3 separate regions of the Homo sapiens genome follow, and regions 1 and 2 are each linked to region 3. Evidence: promoter capture Hi-C in 16 types of primary human blood cells and fetal thymus (Javierre and others, 2016). All regions are on one chromosome and are shown on one strand. Each heading gives the region's core, a stretch centred on a gene start or on the middle of the fragment in contact. The rest is flanking DNA. Distances are from core to core; before and after follow the strand shown.

Region 1 (3,622 bases), core at 839-3,338, 230 kb before region 3:
TTTTTCTGAAAATGTCTTTATTTCATCATAATTATTGAAAAGCATTTTTTCTGAGGGTATAATCTTAGGTGTGACCCCCACAGCACATAGTAAATATTATTCCAGTGTCTACTGGTTTCCATTGTTGCTGTCAAGAATTTAGCTGTCAATCTAAATGTCATTCCTTTAAAGGTATTCTGTTTATTTTCCTTTGGCTGCTTTTCAGATTTTCTGTGTGTCTGATATTTTGCAGTTTTACCATGCTGTGTCTTTATAATCATCCTGTTCTGGATTCAGTAGGATTTTTTTTAATTTTTAATTTTTCCGTAAGTTATTGGGGGTACAGGTGGTATTTGATTACATGAGTAAGTTCTTTGGTGGTGATTTGTGAGATTTTGGTGCATCCATCACCTGAGCAGTATACATTGCACCATATTTGCAATCTTTTATCCCTCGCCACCCCCCACTCTTGCCCCCAAGTCCCCAACGTCCATTGTATAGGATTTTTGAATTTGTGAATTAATGCCTTTACATCACTTTGAGCATATCCTCAGCTATAATGTTCTCCAATGTTGCTTCTGTTCCATTGTATTTCTATAGTATTATTTTAGTACTCTAATTAAACATATTTTAATCTTATTACTCTATCCCATCTATTTCTACCTTTTATTTTAACACCTTTTGCTCTTTGGGCTTTATTGTGGATAGTTCACCCACCTTAAAGTTTAATAATTCTCTCTTCTTGCTGTTGTCTGAATTTGTACCCCCAAATTCATGTGTTGAAAATTCAATCCCTTATACAACAGTGTTGGGAGGTGGGGAATTTCAGGAAATGTTTAGATTATGAGGGATCTGCCCTCATGAATAAATTAACGGCACTGTAAAAGGACTTGATGGAAGGAGCCTGTCCCTCTCTTATGCTTTTGGCTCTGTCATGTGACGATGCAGCAAGAAGATCTTCACCAGATGCTGGTGCCTTGATCTTGGACTTCCCCTAGGCTCCAGAATTGTGAGAAGTAAATTTCCGTTCTCATAAATTACTCAGTCTGTGGCATTCTGTTATAGCAGCACAAATGGTCTAAGATACTTTTATTTATTCTTTTTCAAATTTATTGTTACTTTGTATAATTTCTAGTTTCCTCTCGAAACTTTCAAGCTTGGCATTTATATCTGGAACACAATAAGCTCATGGTTTTAGCGTCTATTTCTGATATGTCCAGTAACTGGGATCCTCATGGGTCTATTCCTGTGGTGTGTTTTAAAATTGTATCTTTATGGTGTTTTGTCTCCACATAAACCTGGTTATCTTTGATTTTGTGCTGAAAGTTGTATTAAACACTTCTTCCTGGAAATAATTTGGGGCTTATAACATTTTCTTTCTCCAGAATGGATTTTAATTGACTTTTGCCAGGCATCTTGGGGCACTAGCAATCATGGGTAATCTTAATCTATTTCAAGCTTCAGGTATTCTAGATAAAACCTCATTATCTAAAATTTACATGTATTCTTTAAGTACGGTTATTCAGTTTCCTAGCCAAACATGAGAGATTGTTTAAGAAGTTCCACCATGACTGGTAGACTCAGGATTCTGACTTTTGTTTCTCTAGTCCTTGGAGACTGTCAAAAGTATATCTCAGTATTCATTCACCTATTTTTTTCCTTTTATTTCCAGTTGGTACATAATAATTGTACATATTTATAGGATACAGAGTGACATTTTGATACATATATACAATGTATAATAATAAAATCAGGGTAATTAGCATATTCATAATCTCAAACATTTACCATTTTTGCATGGTGAACATTTAAAATCCACTCTTCTAGCTTCTTGAAAATATGTAAGAAATTATAGTTAACCATATTTATCCTACAGTGCTACAGTGCTGCAAAACACCACAACCCATTCCTCCTGTGTAGCTATAATTTCGTATCCATTAACCAACCTTTCCCCATCCTCCTTTTCCTTCACCCTTCCCAGCCTCTGATAAGCACAATACTACTTCCATGAGCTCAATAAAATTTTGTAGCTGCCGTATAAGTGAGAACATGTATTTATTTTTCTGTGCCTGACTTATTTCACTTAACATATGCCCTCCAGGCTCAGCCATACTGCCATGAATAACAGGATTTCATTCTTTTTTATGGCTGGATAATATTCCGTTGTGCATATACACCACATTTTCTTTATCCACTCATCTGTTGATGGATATTGAGGTTGATTCCACATAGTAGCTATTGTGAATAGTGCTGCAGTAAGTATGGGAGGTGCAGGTATCACTTTGACATACTGGTTTCCTTTTCTTTGGATAAATGCCCAATAGTGGAATTGCTGGATGATATGGTAGTTCTATTTGTAGTTTTTTGAGGGACTCCCATACTGTTTTCCTTAGTGGCAGTGCTAATTTACATGCCCACCAACAGCATTTATGGGACAGTGGCTCATGCCTGTAATCCCAGCACTTAGGGAGGCAGAGGCAGGAAGATCGCTTGAAGCCAGGAGTTCAAGACCAGCCTGGGCAACATAGCAAGACCCTGTTCTTCACAAAAAAGAAAAAAAAAGCAGTTGTAGAACTCCTTTAAGTATTTCTTGTAGGACTTATCTAGTTGTAGTGTACTTCCTCAGTTTTTGCTTGTTTGGGAAATACTTTATTTCTCCTTCATTTCTGAAGTATAGCTCTGCTTGGTATAGTATTTTTGGCTGATAGTTTTAAAAAATTTCAGCACTTTGGATATATCATCTCATTCTATCCTAGCCTGTAAAGCTTCTGCTGAGAAATCTGCTGTTAGTCTGATGGGAATTTTCTTATAGGTGACTTGTCACTTTTCTTTTACCGTTTTTAGAATTCCCTCCTTGTCTTGAGTCTGGTACCGTAGACTACTCAGCCATCCTGATGCCCTACCTCTTGTATAGAAACAACCCAGATCCAAAGTGGCCAGAAAGTTACTTTACCTTCTGAATTTGTGGTCTTTTTCAGAATCTCTACCTGTTAATTCTGCATGACTTTATTAGTCATTAGATACTTTTATAATTTTAAAATATCTCCAATTGTATGGTTGGTTCAAATTACCAGTTCTGCATACTGGTAATGTAAGTCCTCTGTTGAATTGATTTTTAAATACATTTATTTTATTCCAGTATCTTCTAGCTCCTGGTGTTGCAGATGAGAAGTTTCAAATAACTTGAAATAATTCCCTTCTATGTAATTATCCCTGATTTTGACTTTCTTTCCATAGTTATATATTTTTTCTATGCTATTATATTCTCATTTTAAAGATGTTGAATGACAATGTAATTTTCTTTTCTTTACAAGTGGTAGCTTATTTACAAGTATTTTTGAAGTTTATTTTCCTGGAAAGTTTTCTTAAATTATAGATTTTAGTATTTCTTCTGTTTTATTACTTCAGATTTCTTCTTCAATGGCTCCAATTATATTTGTATTAGATATTCTTTGCTTTTCTTTTGTAGCTAACACTCCTAAATCCTACCTAGCTCTTTTTTAAAAAATATTTTACTTTTTATTCTTGTTTTCATCTTATAGTTTTCTTTAGGCATTATCCATAGTGTTTATATGCTGTTATGTGCCTTCTGGTTTAGTGTTTACTTCTGAAAAAATTATTTTCCTTTTTTTTAATATTTTAC
Region 2 (3,886 bases), core at 1,069-3,568, 190 kb before region 3:
GCTTTTGCATTATCAATGCAAGTGTAAATATAGTGAAAAATGCAAATAATGTTTTAACATTATTTTGAAAATTATATTCACCTCATAAACACCCAAAGGGTCCATAGACCACACTTCGAGAGCTACCGTTCTAATTCTATCATTTCTTCTTTTTTTTAATTAATTGTAACATTTCTGTAATGGGTCTTCAACTATTTGATTAGCCTGAGGTACAGTTCACACAGGAAAGGCAGGATAAATGTTTGATTCTTCCCCTTTGTTTAGCAGTATTCAAAACAATGAATTGATTCCTGGCCATCTTACAAAAAGGACCAAGGCCTTTTTTAGGTGTCATTATGAACTCATTGACTTAAACATATTTGATATGGCCCAATCCATGTCAATTATCTTTTTAATGATCAAATTATGCTAACTTTGGCAAGTTGGGAACTGTTCAGCTTTGCTCCTGAGTCTTTGTGAGTGTGTTTGTGTATCTTGTTTTAAACCTTTTATTTTGGAATAATTATGGATTCACATAAAGTTACAAAACTAGTATAGAGAGATCCCATGTGCTTGTCACCCACTTTTCCCCAGTGATAACACCCTGAATCCTTTTCATGTGAGTCTTAATAGTCTTTTGAATGCTTCCTTGATTTCTGGTATTACAAGATGTTCAGATTATCTTGTACATTTCCTTTCCCAGAATCAGCCATTTTTCAAAGAGCTTTCACTTATTTTTAGTGAAAGATGATACTTAGAGATATAATCTCAACAACAGGTGTGCTTATTGCTGCTGGGTCAGTTGCTGTTTCTAGGTATCTTCAGCTACTGAGCTAAGGGATGTCTATTTTTTAAAAGATAAAATACATCACATGTTTATACTAATCTAATAAAGTTCAGCACTCCGAGGTTTTTACTTAACTTCATCAATCTTACATTCCTATTTCTCCCATACGTCAAATCCCAGTTTTCATTAACGTCAACAGAATTACTCATTTGTTATCCCACGGGACTCAAACAATGGACTTAGAAAACAATTTCAGCACTACAGAAATAATATGATACTGTAGCAGTTTAAGTTTTTGTCATTCTTTTCATTTATAAGGCACATCCTTACAAATGCCCAGTAGGCATGTACAGTCAAATTATTGTGTTTTAAAGTATCTTGGAAAAGTTCCTCTCTGTGTAGTTAAGCCACCAGCTAGATACAGAGCTAGGCTTTTTTCAAGTCGCTTTCAAATTTAGGGCTTGCTTTTTAAATTTTAATTTTCTTTTATAATTATGTGAAATATTTACATGGCTCCAAAATAAACTTATAAAACAAAATATATTTAGAGAAGTCTAGTATCTATTATTCCATACAATACACATTCTTCCCCACTTTGAGTTTTTTCACTTAAAAATATAAACGAGATTATTTCATAGTAGTATAGTATTTACACATATTCCATACTGCTTAATGGTGTCTTTTGATTAGCAATTAATGAGCTCCAATTTATCAATATTATCTTTTTTTTTTTTTTTTGAGACAGATTCTCATTCTGTTGCCCAGGCTGGAGTAAAGTGGTACAATCTTGGCTCACTGCAATCTCTGCCTCCCGGGTTCAAGCGATTCTCCCACCTCAGCCTCCCGAGTAGCGGGGATTACAGGCACCCACCACCACACCCGGCTAATTTTTATACTTTTAGTAGAGACAGGGTTTCACCATGTTGGCCAGGCTGGTCTCGAACTCCTGACCTTAAGTGATCTGCCCGCCTTGGCCTCCTAAAGTGCTGGGATTAGAGGCCTAAACCACCACGCCCAGCCAAAGTTGTCTTTTTTATTTAGTATTCTTTCTATCCTTTTAAAGAAAACATATCCTGCTTCAAGTCATGAAGATATATTCCTGTGTTTTCTTCTATAACATTGCTATCCAATAGAACTTTCTGACATGCTATAAATTTTCTCTATCTGCATATATGGAATGTGTAGCTACTGAGCACTTGAAATGTGGCTAGTGAAACTGGGCTACTCAATTTTTAATGTTACTAATTTTAATTAATTTAAGCTTAAATAACCACATCTGTTTAGTGGTTGCTGTAGTTCTGGAAGCTTTCTTGTTTTAACTTGCACATTTAGATCTTAAATTACCTGAAATTGCTTTTGAATATAGTGCAATGTAGAAGTCAAGATTTATATTTTCCACTTGTAAATCCAGTTAGATTGCCTACTTTCCTCGCTGCTACTGTGCAGTGCTACCTTTGTCATAAGCAACGTGACTTTATATATTCTGTTTCTGGACTGTCTATTCTGTTTCATTGGTCAACTTGTCTATTCTTGTGCCAATACATTCTGTGTTAAATATAGTAACTTTTCATTTGTATTGATATCTAATTGTGTAAGTTCTCTCACTTTGTTATTCTGCTTCAAGATTAACTTAGCTATTTTTGGCCCTTTGCATTTCTATATAAATTGTAGATTCAGCTTCTCAGTTTCTATTTTAAAAAACCCTGCTTTGATTTTAATTGGCACTATATTGAATCTGTAGAAAATATGGGGTATATTGAAAATATCTTATTTTGATCTTTATTGAATCTATAAAAATATGAAGCTTGTTAACATTGACAATATTGAGACAGACAACCGATTAACAAGGTATATTCTTCCATTTATCTTTTTTTTTTTTTTTTGAGACGGAGTCTCGCTCTGTCGCCCAGGCTGGAGTGCAGTGGCGCAGTCTCGGCTCACTGCAAGCTCCGCCTCCCGGGTTCATGCCATTCTCCTGCCTCAGCCTCCCGAGTAGCTGGGACTACAGGCGCCCGCCACCATGCCCGGCTAATTTTTTGTATTTTTTGTAGAGACGGGGTTTCACCGTGTTAGCCAGGATGGTCTCGATCTCCTGACCTCGTGATTCACCCGCTTCGGCCTCCCAAAGTGCTGGGATTACAGGCGTGAGCCACCGCGCCCGGCTTCTTCCATTTATTTTATTATTTTATCTTAATGTTTATGTGTGTGTATGTGTATATAGGGGTATTGCACAACTTTTATTAGATAGCTGATATTTTAATGCTATTTTAAAAGTTTAATTTTATAATACAAAAATTAGCTGGACATGTTGGCACATACCCGTAATCCCAGCTACTCAGGAGGCTGAGGCAGGAGAATTGCTTGAACCTGCGAGGCAGAGGTTGCAGTGAGCTGGGATCGCGTCACTGCACTCTAGCCTGGGCAACAGAGTGATACTCCATCTAAAAAGAAAAAGAAAGGCAGGGCATGGTGGCTCACGCCTGTAATCCCAGCACTTTGGGAGGCTGAGGCAGGCGGATCACGAGGTCAGGAGATCAAGACCATCCTGGCTAACACGGTGAAACCCCGTCTCTACTAAAAATACAAAAAATTAGTCGGGCGTGGTGGCGGGCGTATGTAGTCCCAGCTACTCGGGAAGCTGAGGCAGGAGAATGGCATGAACCTGGAAGGCGGAACTTGGAGTGAGCCGAGATCGCGCCACTGCACTCCAGCCTGGGCGACAGAGTGAGACTCCGTCTCAAAAAAAAAAAAAAAAGTTTAATTTGATAATTGGCTTTTGTTGAAAGTATATAGAAATAATACTGATTTTATGTTAACTTTGTATCCAATGTTCTTGCTAAATAGTAAAATCTCATATTTTTATATTTTGGGTTTTCTACATATACTGTCATGCTATTCCCAAATAATGTTAGTTTTATTATTGTATTTTTTACTTTCTCTCTTTTTTTAAAAAAATAGAGATAGAGTCTCACTACATTGCCCAGGCTAGTCTGGAGCTCCTGGGCTCAAGCAATCCTCCCACGCCAGCCTCCCAAAGTGCTGGGATTACAGGCATAGGCCACCATGCCTGGTCTTTTAAAAACTTTCTAATCACATAGTTTTCTTGCTTTCTGTCATTGC
Region 3 (3,638 bases), core at 1,067-3,566:
AAATGTTGAGTATTAGTTTTCCTTCCAATGTGTAAGTTGTATAAACATCTCTCTTTACTGGTAACTAACTATCTCTAAAGGGAGACAAGTAATTTTTAAGTTTCTAATAATAATTGAAAATTTGAATATAAATATATTTCACCTATGATAACCATGTACCCAAGGCAAGGCTGAAGTTGGGATCTAAATTATCTGAAAAGTTGTTCACCTCTCCAGCTCTGCTTAGGTATAGAAAAGAATGGTTTCTGGAGTCACATAGTAACAGTTTAAATCCTGGCTCTGCCGTTTCACATGCTGTATGACTTTGGACAGATTATTTAAACTCTGTGTGCCACAATTCTTCGTCTTTAAAATGTGGCTAATAAGACTGCCCACCTCATAGGGTTGTTGGGGTGATAAAATGAGTCAACATACGCAAAATGCTTAGAAAAATATCTGGTGTATAGTGGATATATATGTTAATGTTATTGAGATTTCATTTACTTTTGGATTGCAAAAGGAACTGAAAAGACCCAATTCTTACTCTATGTCAACATGTAGGAATAAGTAAACAAAATATGGTTTGAATTTTGTCCTGAATGCATTAACTTGAATCTAACTAAAACCTGGTTACTATATTAGAAACAATTTTCTCTTTGATTTGCCCAGGAGATTTGTTTTCCAGTTATGTCTAAAATAATACTCTTTCTTTTTATTCTTTTCAGTATATATTTTTATTGTTTTTCATTTAATAGTGATGCATAGTGTATCTTTTCTGATTTACTTTAAATGTGAAAGAAAATTCTAAGATGTTAATATTATTATTACTGCCATTGATATATCCCTTATAGGAATTAATTAATAGAAATAGAATCAAAGTAAATTTAGTTATATAATGCTTAGCATGTATTATATTCTCAAAATTCTGTATTCAGTTTCAGACATGTTCAAGGCTGAATATATGATCTGACAATAATCTGCTTATATAGATAAAAACATCATTTGAGTGGATTAATTTATTAATTCAACTGGTATTTACTAAATAAAATCCATGTATCTTTCACAATTTTTACTAATACTTTCTATCACTATCAGAATCTGAAATCTCAGATTTCATGCTTTAAAAAGAATTAATTTAACATGAATTATAAATTATAATTACTTATATGAATTGGATAACTAAATAAAATAACAAGATATTTAAGGGGAGAAAATCTTATATGTGGCAAGATAAGTGGTGCTCCATTCAGTGTATTAATTGCAACCAATAAATTGGTTAACTGTGTCTCAGTGGTACCATTCTTTCTTATTGTTTGAGAGTAATCACAGTAGCTACACACTGTGGTGGGATCCATTTTATACACAAGTCTCTTTACTTCACCATATCTGAGTAGAGACAGCCTAAGTCACCCTTTGGTCACAGAATAAAATATTTTAAATCAGTGCTTCTTGTTTTCCCCAAAATTAGCTGGTCAAGGAATATGATATCTGGGATACAAAAGGTGAGTGTGGTAACAGGCAAACTCATTGTAAAATATAGATTACATCTATCTTGCTAAATAAGCTCAGCTTAAAGCCTTTATCTTCACAAAATTCTGTGACTGTTACTCACTTTTGTCTTGACATTATCCTCATAATAGTCACATAGAATAATCAAGTCCTGTTACCCTCTGAGCTTCAGTTTTAGTTTCCTTATCTTTTATTTCCTCTTTAGTTCTAAGAATCTGTGATTCTAATACTATTTGCCTTACTCCTAGGTTCAATGTAGGTTCACACTATAAATTACTTGATACAAAACAAGATACCTGTCTATTCACCTGTATTACTATTTGCACATTAAAGTAGGAAAATAGAACCTTTCGTTTCAAAGGTAGTCGCGCTTTAGACCATGTATAGAGAACATCTTAAACTTTTGCATCATCACAAAGTCCTCACATTCTTAGAAAAGAACATTTATAACTACTAAGAATTGAATTGAAAGTGTATAAAAATTTGTCTCCTGTGGCTGGATTATGTAAAGAAGAAATGGAGTTCTTTGAAGTTTCACTGATAAGCGTGTGGGGAGTCTGAGATATCTTCTTGATTTGTGCTCATGATTATTCTGGTTCGTGCACTGTAATTAAATAACCTTTTAAATTATGCAGTTTAATGTAACAAAGTTTGTAAAAATTCTATGCTCTTAAAAATGGCTTTTATTTTAAAACTTCCCAAATACGTTGTCTTGAAGTTGTTAATTTCTCAATCAAGACGCAGGGTGGCGCTGCAGGCTAAGTTGTGAATAATGAGCCCTAAAAAGCTCGCGCGTATTCTTCTGTGTCGCTAGACGCAATCAAAAACACACGGAAGAAGCGTTACAAGCAGTGCAGGTTTACCAACGGCTTGGGGCAGCGATATACTAAACAAATTTAATATTAAAAGCAACTGTGTGACGATTCCTCCAAGCAAGAAATTGGAATTGAATGTCTCAAGTCTCGTTGCGGTTGCTGAGGGGATTGGATATAGGGACCTGGACTCCAACATGAAGAAGCTAGGGAGAATTCATCCAAACAGGCAAGTGTTGGCCTTTATTTTGATGGTGTTCTTGTCTCAGGTTCGCCTCGAGCCTATTCGTTATTCTGTGTTGGAGGAAACAGAGAGCGGCTCCTTTGTAGCCCATCTGGCCAAGGATCTGGGCCTGGGAATTGGGGAACTGGCCTCCCGGTCAGCCCGGGTGCTGTCTGACGATGACAAGCAGCGTTTGCAGCTGGATCGTCAGACTGGAGATTTGCTTCTGAGGGAGAAACTAGACCGGGAAGAGCTCTGTGGTCCTATTGAACCGTGTGTACTGCATTTCCAAGTGTTCCTGGAAATGCCGGTGCAATTTTTTCAAGGAGAATTATTGATCCAGGACATAAATGATCACTCTCCAATATTCCCTGAAAGGGAAGTGCTCTTGAAAATACTAGAAAATAGCCAGCCGGGTACTCTATTTCCGTTGCTAATAGCTGAGGATTTGGATGTGGGCAGCAATGGTCTTCAAAAATACACAATCAGCCCCAATTCTCATTTTCACATTCTCACTCGAAATCATAGTGAGGGCAAGAAATACCCAGATTTGGTGCAGGACAAACCACTGGATCGAGAGGAGCAGCCTGAGTTCAGCTTAACCCTCGTGGCGCTGGATGGTGGGTCACCACCTAGGTCTGGCACGGTCATGGTTCGAATCCTGATCATGGACATCAATGACAATGCTCCTGAGTTTGTGCACACTCCATATGGGGTGCAGGTCCTGGAAAACAGCCCCCTAGACTCTCCAATTGTTAGGGTCTTAGCTAGAGATATAGATGCTGGAAACTTCGGGAGTGTTTCTTATGGCTTATTCCAAGCATCAGATGAAATTAAACAAACTTTCTCAATAAATGAAGTCACGGGAGAAATACTGTTGAAAAAAAAATTGGATTTCGAAAAAATTAAATCTTACCATGTAGAAATTGAGGCCACAGATGGAGGAGGCCTTTCTGGAAAAGGCACTGTAGTCATAGAGGTGGTGGATGTGAATGACAATCCCCCAGAACTTATCATATCTTCACTCACCAGCTCCATCCCAGAAAATGCTCCTGAGACGGTAGTCTCTATCTTCCGAATTCGAGATAGAGATTCCGGAGAAAATGGAAAGATGA

The links. Contacts are between HindIII fragments. The CHiCAGO score rates a contact against its expected background, and 5 or more counts as called.
Region 1: a contact is called between a fragment that was not itself captured here and the fragment with the promoter of PCDHB4 in region 3, in 1 of 17 cell types (M0 macrophages). The highest score is 6.2, in M0 macrophages.
Region 2: a fragment that was not itself captured here is called in contact with the fragment with the promoter of PCDHB4 in region 3 in 1 of 17 cell types (M0 macrophages); the score reaches 6.5 in M0 macrophages.

The regions. Positions count from the first base shown.
Region 1 is chr5:140,890,966-140,894,587 of GRCh38, forward strand. All of the region lies in intron 1 of PCDHA1 (protocadherin alpha 1), which reads left to right. All of the region lies in intron 1 of PCDHA2 (protocadherin alpha 2), which reads left to right. All of the region lies in intron 1 of PCDHA3 (protocadherin alpha 3), which reads left to right. The region is part of intron 1 of PCDHA4 (protocadherin alpha 4); the gene reads left to right. It also overlaps PCDHA5, PCDHA6, PCDHA7, PCDHA8, PCDHA9 and PCDHA10, and 4 more genes. Among named protein-coding and RNA genes, the nearest start is that of PCDHA13, 11 kb to the left of the region's middle. The HindIII fragment of the contact is 1,307 bases long and covers 1,436-2,742 here.
Region 2 is chr5:140,934,407-140,938,292 of GRCh38, forward strand. The region is part of intron 1 of PCDHA1 (protocadherin alpha 1); the gene reads left to right. All of the region lies in intron 1 of PCDHA2 (protocadherin alpha 2), which reads left to right. All of the region lies in intron 1 of PCDHA3 (protocadherin alpha 3), which reads left to right. All of the region lies in intron 1 of PCDHA4 (protocadherin alpha 4), which reads left to right. It also overlaps PCDHA5, PCDHA6, PCDHA7, PCDHA8, PCDHA9 and PCDHA10, and 5 more genes. Among named protein-coding and RNA genes, the nearest start is that of PCDHAC1, 10 kb to the left of the region's middle. The HindIII fragment of the contact is 499 bases long and covers 2,070-2,568 here.
Region 3 is chr5:141,119,502-141,123,139 of GRCh38, forward strand. PCDHB4 (protocadherin beta 4) reads left to right here and starts at 2,317. Exons shown (of 1, transcript NM_018938.4): 1 at 2,317-3,638. The coding sequence starts at 2,498. It also overlaps PCDHB@. The HindIII fragment of the contact is 8,854 bases long and covers 1-3,638 here.